Regions from separate parts of the Homo sapiens genome. Here all the other regions are linked to region 3. Evidence: promoter capture Hi-C in human tissues and cell types (Jung and others, 2019). All regions are on one chromosome and are shown on one strand. Each heading gives the region's core, a stretch centred on a gene start or on the middle of the fragment in contact. The rest is flanking DNA. Distances are from core to core; before and after follow the strand shown.

Region 1 (3,042 bases), core at 367-2,866, 100 kb before region 3:
TCCATTAGCAGTCCATTGGCCACTCATTTTTCTTTACTTGAATTATATTTGGAGATCTTTTATAAGTGAAGCCTTTTTTTTTTAAAGTTAACTCTAAAAGAAGTAATAATCAGTTGGGCTACTGGAATATCCTTTAAGAACATCTGTATTATTTTCTTTGTGCTTTAGTGTAGTTTTCAGATGTTCAGTAGTAATCTCTAAGTGAGTAGTTGAAGTTGGGCTTAGAATTGGAAGTTCTCTGCATTTCTCCTGACTTCAAAAATAAGCCCTTCAGCAACTTAATTTGGAAATAGTGGGTAAGAGAGTGCGTTATGTCACTTCTTTAAGAATGGTGCACTATTTATTTAACTTATATAAAGAAAGGTGTTTTTATTTTGTTTTTTGGTGGTTTTTTTTTTTTTTGAGATGGGGTCTTGCTCTGTTGCCCAGGCTGGAGTGCAGTGTCACAGTCTTGGCTCACTGCAACCTCCGCCCCCTGGGTTCAAGCGATTCTCCTGCCTCAGCCTCCTGAGTAGCTGGGATTACAGGTGCACGCCACCATGCCTGGCTAATTTTGTATTTTTAGTAGAGACAGGGTTTTACCGTGTTGGTCAGGCTGGTCTCCTGACCTCATGAGCCACCTGCCTTGGCCTCCCAAAGTGCTGGGATTACGGGTGTGAGCCACTGCACCCAACAAAGAAAGGTGTTTATTTGACTCAAGGTTTTGGCGGCTGGGAAGTCCAAGTGCATGGCGGCAGCTTCTGGCAAGGGCTTTTTTTAATACAGGAAGTTTTTAGATTAAGCAATTACTTGGAACCTTAAGCGTACTATGGATTTTTAAAAATTTGAGTGTTAAGTACAATTGAGGGTATGAAGTAAAGATACAATAGAGCATAAAAAGGGGATTTGTGCTGGGTGCGGTGGCTCACGCCTGTAATCCCAGCACTTTGGGAGGCCAAGGAGGGTGGATCACGAGGTCAGGAGATCGAGGCCATCCTGGCTAACAGTGAAACCCCATCTCTACTAAAAATACAAAAAATTAGCCGGGCGTGGTAGCAGGCACCTGTAGTCCCAGCTACTTGGGAGGCTGAGGCAGGAGAATGGCGTGAACCCGGGAGGTGGAAGTTGCAGTGAGCTGAGATCGTGCCACTGCACTCCAGCCTGGACGACAGAGCAAGGCTCCTTCTAAAAAAAAAAAGGGTGGGGGGTGGCGGGATTTGTGTGGATTCTAATTCCTTGTGTGGGATTTTCCTTTTAGCTGTTTTTTTTTTTTTTTTTTTTAAAGAGACAGGATCTCATTGTCACCCAGGCTGGAGTGCAGTGGCACTATCGTAGCTCATTGCAGCCTGGAACTGGGCTGAAGCTCTCCTCCTTCCTCAGCCTCCTGAGTAGCTAGTACTACAGGTGTATGCCACCATGCCTGGCCTCTTTTAGCTTTTTATATAATATGTTATGCCATTAACTTTTCTCTTTTTTTTTGAGACAGGGTGTTGCTGTGTTGTTGAGGCTGGAGTACAGTGGTGTGGTCATAGCTCACTGTAGCCTTGAGCTCCTGGGCTCAAGTGATCCTCCTGCCTCAGCCTCCTGAGTAGCTGGGACCACAGGTGTGCACCGCAATGCCCAGCTAATTTTTTTATTTTTATTTTTTTGAGATGGAGTCTCACACTGTCGCCCTGGCTGGCGTGCAGTGGCGTGATCTCGGCTCACTGCAACCTCCGCCTCTCAGGTTCAAGTGATTTCTCCTGCCTCAGCCTCCCTAGTAGCTGGGATTACAGGCATGAGCCACCGTGCCCGGCTGCCCAGCTAATTCTTGTATTTTTTATATATGTATATATACATATAGTGACGGTGTCTGTGTATTTTACCCAGGCTGGTCTTGAACTCCTGGCCTCAAGGGATCCTCCTGCCTCAGCCTCCCAAAGTGCTAGGATTACAGGTGTGGGCCACCATGCCTGTCCTAACTTTTCTTTTCCTTTCTTTTTTTTGGAGACGGAGCCTCACTCTGTCACCCAGGATGGAGTACAATGGTGCGATCTTGGCTCGCTGCAACCTCTGCCTCCTGGGTTCAAGCGATTCTGCCTCAGCCTCCCGAGTAACTGGGATTACAGGCATGTACCACCGTGCCCGGCTAATTTTTTTGTATTTTTAGTAGAGACGGGGTTTCGCCATGTTGGCCAGACTGGTCTTGAACTCTTGACCTCAAGTTCTCCGCCCACCTCCGCCTCCGAAAGTGCTGGGATTACAGGCATGAGCCACCACACCTGGCTGTGATGGCTCTTTTTTAAGAGACAGGGTCTCACCCTGTGACTCAGGCTGGAATGCAGTGGTATGATCCTAGCTCACTGCACCCTTGAACTCCTGGGCTTAAGGAATCCTCCCGCCTCAGCCTCCTGTGTAGCTGGGACCATAGGTTTGCGCTACCACCCATGTTGTCTGGGCTGGTCTGGAATTCCTGCCCTCAAGTGATCCTTCTGCTTCAGCCTCCTTAAGTATTGGGATTACAGGCATGAGCCACCATGCTTAGCTTGTGATGGCTCTTAGTGTACATACCTGGGACATATAACTGTGCCTTCTTAAAAGTAGTTATCTCAGAATGCTTAGCAAGCCTCTCTTTGACTTGACTTTAAAAGCTTTGAACACTAGATCCTAACTTTTTGAAGTAAACTTTTGATTTTGAAATGGTTGAAAGTCATTTGAAGCCAAGTCTTTGGAAATAATAATTGATATGAGTTGTGTGTTTGGTCACAGTGCCAATTTAAACTGGGTTGATCTGTCTTACATGGCTGTTATGGCACTGAAGGATATGAAGCATTTGAAATGCTGACATTTTGGAATATTCATTTAAAAATAGGCTGGGGCCGGACATGGCTCACACTTGTAATCCCAGCACGTTGGGAGGCTGAGGCGGGTGGATCACCTGAGGTCAGGAGTTTGAGACCAACCTGGCCAACATGACGAAACCCCATCTCTATGAAAATACAAAAATTAGCCAGGCATAGTGGTGCAGGCCTGTAGTCTCCGCTAATTGGGAGGCTGAGGTGGGAGAATCGCTTGAATCTGGGA
Region 2 (2,945 bases), core at 356-2,855, 78 kb before region 3:
CTGCAACCTCCACCTCCCTGGTTCAAGCAATTCCCCTGCCTCAGCCTCCCATGTAGCTGGGATTACGGGCGCACACCACCACACCTGGCTAATTTGTATTCTTAGTAGAGACGGGGTTTCACCATGTTGACCAGACTGGTCTCGAACTCCTGACCTCAGGCAATCTGCCCGCCTCAGCCTCCCAAAGTGCTGGAATTACAGGTGTGAGCCACCGTGCCCGGCCAAGTATCTCTTTTCTACAGCCTTATTAAACTAACTACAAACATTTATTTTCCAATTTAGTTTTACTTTCAGTGCATATCAAAGTTGTTGTACTCTTCAGACCAACAAATTAACTTGAGGGCAAATTACATAGCTTTCCATGTACCCTTTTTTCCTCAGGTGCTAATCAAAGGCTCTGAAAATGGATACTGCTTTAGTGATGTCTGCTTTATTCTTAAAATGCTTATTTCTTTTGCTAGATGTAAAGATTTGGTGTTAACAAAAGTGGTTTTAATATGTAAATATGAATGAATGCCTTTAGTTTACCCTGTTTGTCTATTATTAATCTGTTTTCATTTATCCTTCATAGAGGAGGATCCTTTCATGATCTTGAATACATTTCATTAGATATTGTTGCATTTTAAGAATGAAAATACAACTGTTTTCTGTCTTAGATTAATCCTGCTGCTATGAGAAACTGAAAATCAAGAATGTGATGCACTTTTTACATTACTATATACCATACATATACCATAGGTTGCTTTGATACCTTTCCTGTAGCACAGCCACTAACAAGAGTGAATGAATTATAAAATTCTTTTTGGGAGGGAATCAATACAAGTAACTAATTCTTAGCTGATATTGTCCTATGAAGGACAATAACTTAGGAATATAAGAATTCTGTTAATAGTACACTTTTTGGCCTTAAATGTCTTCTACTACTGAAAATAGTTTAAATCTTAGCTTTGTTTCTATTATTCCCTCTCTCTGCCTCAGAAAGAGGAATTGGGAAGAATGGCTTAAAGGACGTGGTGTCATTGATTTGTTGCTGATCTTTTAGAAAACATTTGTCTATGTAAGCTGGGGACTTATTTTTTGTTTGTATATAGAGGGGAAATAGTGCTGCCCTGAACCAATCAGATTTAGTTTAAATCAAATCAATCAAAACTCCAGCTGTTTCTCTTGTCTTTTTACTTAGCAAAGGAAAACTTTAGTGAATGCTACTTGACAAGAAGAAAAGTCATTTCTCAAGCACATACCCAAACTTGAAGGTGATTGAACCCAAAATAATGGGTGGGAAACACCAAATGAGGTGGAGGAATGAGAAAGATGTGTGGGCCAAAGCTATCTGGTTATATTTTGATGTTGCCAATATCGCAAAGCCAAAATTTTAATTTGCTTATTTAATATATTTGTTGGCCAGAGATCTATTTTTATATCAATGTGCCTTGCATGTATATTAAAAAAAAAAAATTGGAAACGCCATGTAGTAATGCCTGAGATAGTCGATGGTTCTTACCACCTCACTAATTTTTATGCAGTATGAAATGCTCATTCTATTGCCCAACTGGTGCTCTCTGTTTAAAGTTACAGATCTTGCGAAACTGGAACTATTTTATAAGCTGGGGAAGTGATTTACTTTTTTTGTTGTATCTTTTTTGTTCTTAGTCTGTTAGTGGCTGTCCTGTAGTGGGAAATAGTAAAAGGATTCTTCACTCCCTTCTCCCCTCAGCACCTTCTTCAAGTAAACATTTCTTGTGTGCTTTGAAAAAAGTTTCAGCTTGCTGTCTCTTTTAGTGTTTTAAAGAAGTGTTATACAAAGCATTGTTTGCAAAATATAGGGAGATAATGGAGTCCACTTTAATTTGGAATTCTGTGTGAGCTATGATCCAAGTTATCAGCTCTTTCCAACTTTAAAAATTTTGTTAAAAGCACCTTGCTTAGAAAATTTTAAATATTTATGTCTGCAACAATTGTCTCAAAATAATAAACTGTGCAATTCTTGTCATTAAAAAAAAAAAAGATCTGAATTTTCCCTAATGTGACTTGTTAGTTTCTCTCTGTATTTCCTGCCAGTGTAAATGTGAAAGCTTTGCTTGCATTACGTTTTAGAAATGCATTTTGCACACTCGAATTTTGCCGAAGCTCCGTGAAAAGGTTAGATCTAAGTAGATGAATAAAGCTATGCACATGTTTTGAAAGTTTAATTTGTGTGTCATTACCAAAAGTGACCGATTTGTCCTTACTACTTTGCTGTTGTTAGCTTTACCATCTTTGGAAACTTGGCTCAAAGTTACATAGTTCTGGGCTAGCTCATCAGTGGAACTAGGAGAGAGGAAAACTGGCACCTATTTTAATAAAGTTCAATTTAAACGAGAGCTTGACTTGTATCTATTAAAGAGCTTTTCTTGAAACAGGGCAGTTTTATCAGCTTTACAAATCATTGGATGCTCTTCCTTAGTAATATTTTGGTTTATTTGATCAAATAGAAATGGAAAGTAATTCAAACTGAAAGACCCTTTTTTGTCATATGGAACTTGGTGACGATTTTTTGTCTTAAAGCTGGTTTAAAGGTAGGATAGGCTTTTACCTTTATTGCTTTAGCATAAATTTGGTTTACTGAATTGACTGGCTTGAGATTAGAATTATTCAGTTGTTTGTAAGATCAAAGCACTGGTTGTTTTAAAGATAACGTGTATCTTTTAAAAAATTGCCCAAGCTGATTAGAACAAGTTTAGGAGTTGGGTACATTTGGTTCAAGTGCTGCAATCTGTATGTACTAAATAGCTTTACTTTGTGTATGTGTACTTATAATGTGTAGATGTACTACTACCCAGGTTTTGTCAAATCATCTTTTTTAAAGTTTTTTTTTTTTTAATTGGTTCAGGACCTTTGTAGGAGAGGCTAATATGTTTAAGTAGAAGATATTACTGATAGCATTTTCCCCATGCTCCTACATAAAA
Region 3 (3,222 bases), core at 110-2,609:
TTGAAGCTGCTCTTCTCACTCCTCAAGCCAAATAAGCCTCCCATCATAGCACCTATCTCATCATCCAAGTAATGCCAGCATGGTGAACCCTACTACTGTCACAGCTCAGGTCTACCTGTTCCCCATGTGATTTCCCTGGAGATATGCCATGTCTGATCTCCTTCTGTGTCACCCCAAGTGCCTGGGGCTGCACTTGGCACTTAGCAGGCAGTTTGTTAAATTGAATTTGAGTTGCATGTTATTCCAAAATGTGTATCCCGCCTGGGTCTATTCCTCAGGAACTCCCTAACTCTTACTCAACTCTCTGCTTTCTGAGCCTCCTTGCTCCAGCCTTCCCTGGTCTGTCAGGTTGGGCTGCCCTTGCCTGGAGAAGTTCCTGTTTGGGCTGTCTAGGGAGGTAGCAGCATTTGTCTGCTACACCCTTCTTCCTGCACCACCCCACTCAGTTTCTTCCACATTCTGGCACACCCCACTCCAGCATGGACACTGCCCAGGGAAGTGTCCCCATTTCTTTCTTTCTCCAAACTCTAGACATAGCACCTATCTTGGAGGCCTGGTATCTGGATGTCCCTTGGCCTCTCCCAGGAAGTATAAACTGTCTTCTTGGTGGGTACAGCAGCTCACTTGATATTTACAGCACACAGTGGACCCAGGGACAGACTGCATTCCAAAGAGCTTCTGAAAGTGTTAATCTTGGCATTGGTGAACTCCTTTAGGGAGTGAGTGGCACTTACAGCCATGGCTCCCGGGCCCTGGTACGCCTCTTGATCCACTCCATTTTGAGGCAGGGCTGTATCAGACCAAGCTATTGGGAGTCTGTTTTTACCTTGGGGAGTGCATTCTGGCAGTGCCATCTCGGACATGGCAGGCAGTACCTGGTCTGGACTGAGCCTGGGGCACCATCCAGCAGGGCCCTGTGTGTGCCTCTGCAGAGCCACCTTGGGAGGAGGCGGCCAGTAAGACTTAATTGCTTCCTTTAGACAGCACTACCTTGAACACAGCCTGCAGAGTTCGGTGCCTGCCTTGGACAGCCCCTCTTCTATACGTTCATCATGACCCTGGTGCCTGTCCTAGGCAGTGCCACTCAGCCCCTTTCGGACCCTTTTCGGACAGCCTCCAGTGCCCAGTGCAGACAGAAACTCCAGGCAGGGCCTCTCTCAGACACAGCGAGAGGGGCTTCGGAGTCCACAGCGGACGGAGGCTGCCAGGGCAGCGCCCGGCCCGCCTGGCCCACGTCTGGCGGCGCGCACTGGCGCTGCCAGGCAGGCCGGGCGTTTATCCCCACAGCCGCCAGCAGGGAGCTCCCTTTCGGCTCGGCCTGCGCGGTCGCTGGGGGCGGCGCTGAGCTGCGCCGCGCTGCGCTCTGCTCCATCCCTGACCGGGCCGAGGCTGCTGGATGCCGCGTCTCCGCTTCTGCTGCCTGCCGGGCGGGCTCCGGTGGCCGGTGAGTGCCGGTCGGCGGCGGCGGCCGCTCGGTGGCGGGCCCGGCTTGGTGGGGCGGCGGGGCGGGCTCCGGCCGGGAGGGAGGGCGGGCGGGCGGCGGGGCCCGCCGGCTCCTCCTCCTCCTCCCCCGTCCCCTGGAAGCAGCGGCCCGGACTCCCGGCTCCCGTCCCTGGCGGCGCCGTGGAGCTCGACGCCCGGGGGTGGGGGCCGATCGGGAGCGGCGGGGAAGGGGGAACCACCGGCCCTTCCAGCCAACCTGGGGGGCGCAGGGAGGCAGGACAGGGTGGCCTTCAGTGTGGGGGGATTTGGGGCTTGGAGGCGCCCAGGTGGCCCGGAGCTGCGGGGTGGGGGCTGCAGCCTCGAGGGTGGGGGGACTTCTCCTGCCCCCGTCCAGGCCCCACGATGGAGCGAGCGAGAGAGCGGGGCGCTGAGGAAGGCAGCGGGGAAGGGGAGCACCTCTACCGACCCTTTTATCCCTCCCAGCGGCCTTCACTCTTTCACTGCCGGGCAGACTGCGGGCTCCTCTCAAAGGAGCAGCTGCTAGACAGCTGGCAAAACAATGGAGACCCCGCTTCCCTGGGCCCCCTCCTCTTGGGACAGAAGATGAGAGGGTGAATGGTGGCAGGCTTTGGGGATTAGGGAGTGCAGGCTGTGCCCTGAGACTGAATGCTCACCTCACCTTTCCCTGCAGAGGGGTGGGGTGCGTGTGGGAAGGTCGGACAAGCTGCCCCAGGCCTCTGGAGAGACCGCCCCGACGCCCCGCCCTGCTAACCTGTCATGCCAGTTGTTTCGCCAATGGGAAGGGGAGGTGGTAGGGGTGGCTGCCCCCTCACCCTGCCCCTTGTTAGTGGGGGTGCGCTCCTTGGTCCCAAACCCGGCCAGGAGTGTGGGTCATGTTCCTGGGTGCGATAAGGCCCGCAGGGACAGGCCAGGCATTGGGGCTTTGTTTTGGGGGTGGAGATGGGGGAGTTGCCCTACTGCAAGGCACATGTGTCTTGCTGATTAGTTGGAAAGGTTGCGGCCAGAATGAGCTAGAGGTGGGGGGTGGGGGAGATGGGGAGGAAGACAGCCAGTTTGTTTTTGAGCGGGTATTCATTTTGCCTGACCACTTTGCCAATGGGGCATGTGTTTGGCGCTGGCCTCATAGTTTGTATTTGTGTGGGGAGGGCTGGGGGAATGCTTCCTGAGAGGGACTGTCCTGGCTAGGGCTTTCATTCCCTCAGATGGCCACCCCGAATTAAAGAATTGGATTCCCTCCCTGCTTCACCCTGCCAATGACTTGGGCTAGTTAGTGTGGGTTCGTCTTGTCTTTTGGAGCCCCTGGCGTGTCTGTGGCCGAGAAGGCCTCATCAGTGCCCCTGTGGCAAGTGAGCTCTGGGAAGTGTGTATGCACTGGGGTGTGCTGGAAGGGAGGGGAGGCCACCTGGGTGATTAAGAGCAAGATCACCTGAGCAGGACGGTGAGTACAGAGCCCATTGAATCAGCCGCCTTTCCCTTGTGCTTTGGAGCCCTTTTCTTGAGCAGGTTGGTGCCCTGTTGTTGTGGCAACAGGCCTGGCCTAATGTTCCCCACCCTTTTTAGTTCAGGGGCTACTTTCTATCTGGAGATATTGAAAGTTGCTCTCCTGAGGTCTCTGGCTTCCTGACAAGCCTCACTGGCTCTTTGTCCATGGCTTCCCACCTCCTCAGCTTCCTCTCTGTTTTTTTGTGATGAAGTCTTTCCAGGAAACATCCTCCTGGTTTCTGGATTTGACATGACGGGTTATATATAGCCTCGGGT

The links. The method cuts DNA at HindIII sites, captures the fragments that hold promoters and counts their contacts. A contact is called where the count stands out against the background at its distance.
Region 1: a contact is called between a fragment that was not itself captured here and the fragment with the promoter of MYO18A in region 3, in 5 of the 25 tissues and cell types used here (aorta, dorsolateral prefrontal cortex, hippocampus and 2 more).
Region 2: a contact is called between a fragment that was not itself captured here and the fragment with the promoter of MYO18A in region 3, in 2 of the 25 tissues and cell types used here (hippocampus and mesenchymal stem cells).

Annotation. Positions count from the first base shown.
Region 1 is chr17:29,279,908-29,282,949 of GRCh38, reverse strand. The region is part of intron 2 of NUFIP2 (nuclear FMR1 interacting protein 2); the gene reads left to right. Among named protein-coding and RNA genes, the nearest start is that of NUFIP2, 13 kb to the left of the region's middle. The HindIII fragment of the contact is 8,027 bases long and covers 1-3,042 here.
Region 2 is chr17:29,256,578-29,259,522 of GRCh38, reverse strand. NUFIP2 (nuclear FMR1 interacting protein 2) reads left to right here. Exons shown (of 4, transcript NM_020772.3): 4 at 1-2,945. Among named protein-coding and RNA genes, the nearest start is that of CRYBA1, 11 kb to the right of the region's middle. The HindIII fragment of the contact is 3,214 bases long and covers 1-2,945 here.
Region 3 is chr17:29,178,535-29,181,756 of GRCh38, reverse strand. It overlaps MYO18A (myosin XVIIIA), which reads left to right and starts at 1,359. Exons shown (of 42, transcript NM_078471.4): 1 at 1,359-1,444. RefSeq lists silencers at 1,280-1,500, 1,466-1,515, 1,636-1,685. The HindIII fragment of the contact is 14,487 bases long and covers 1-3,222 here.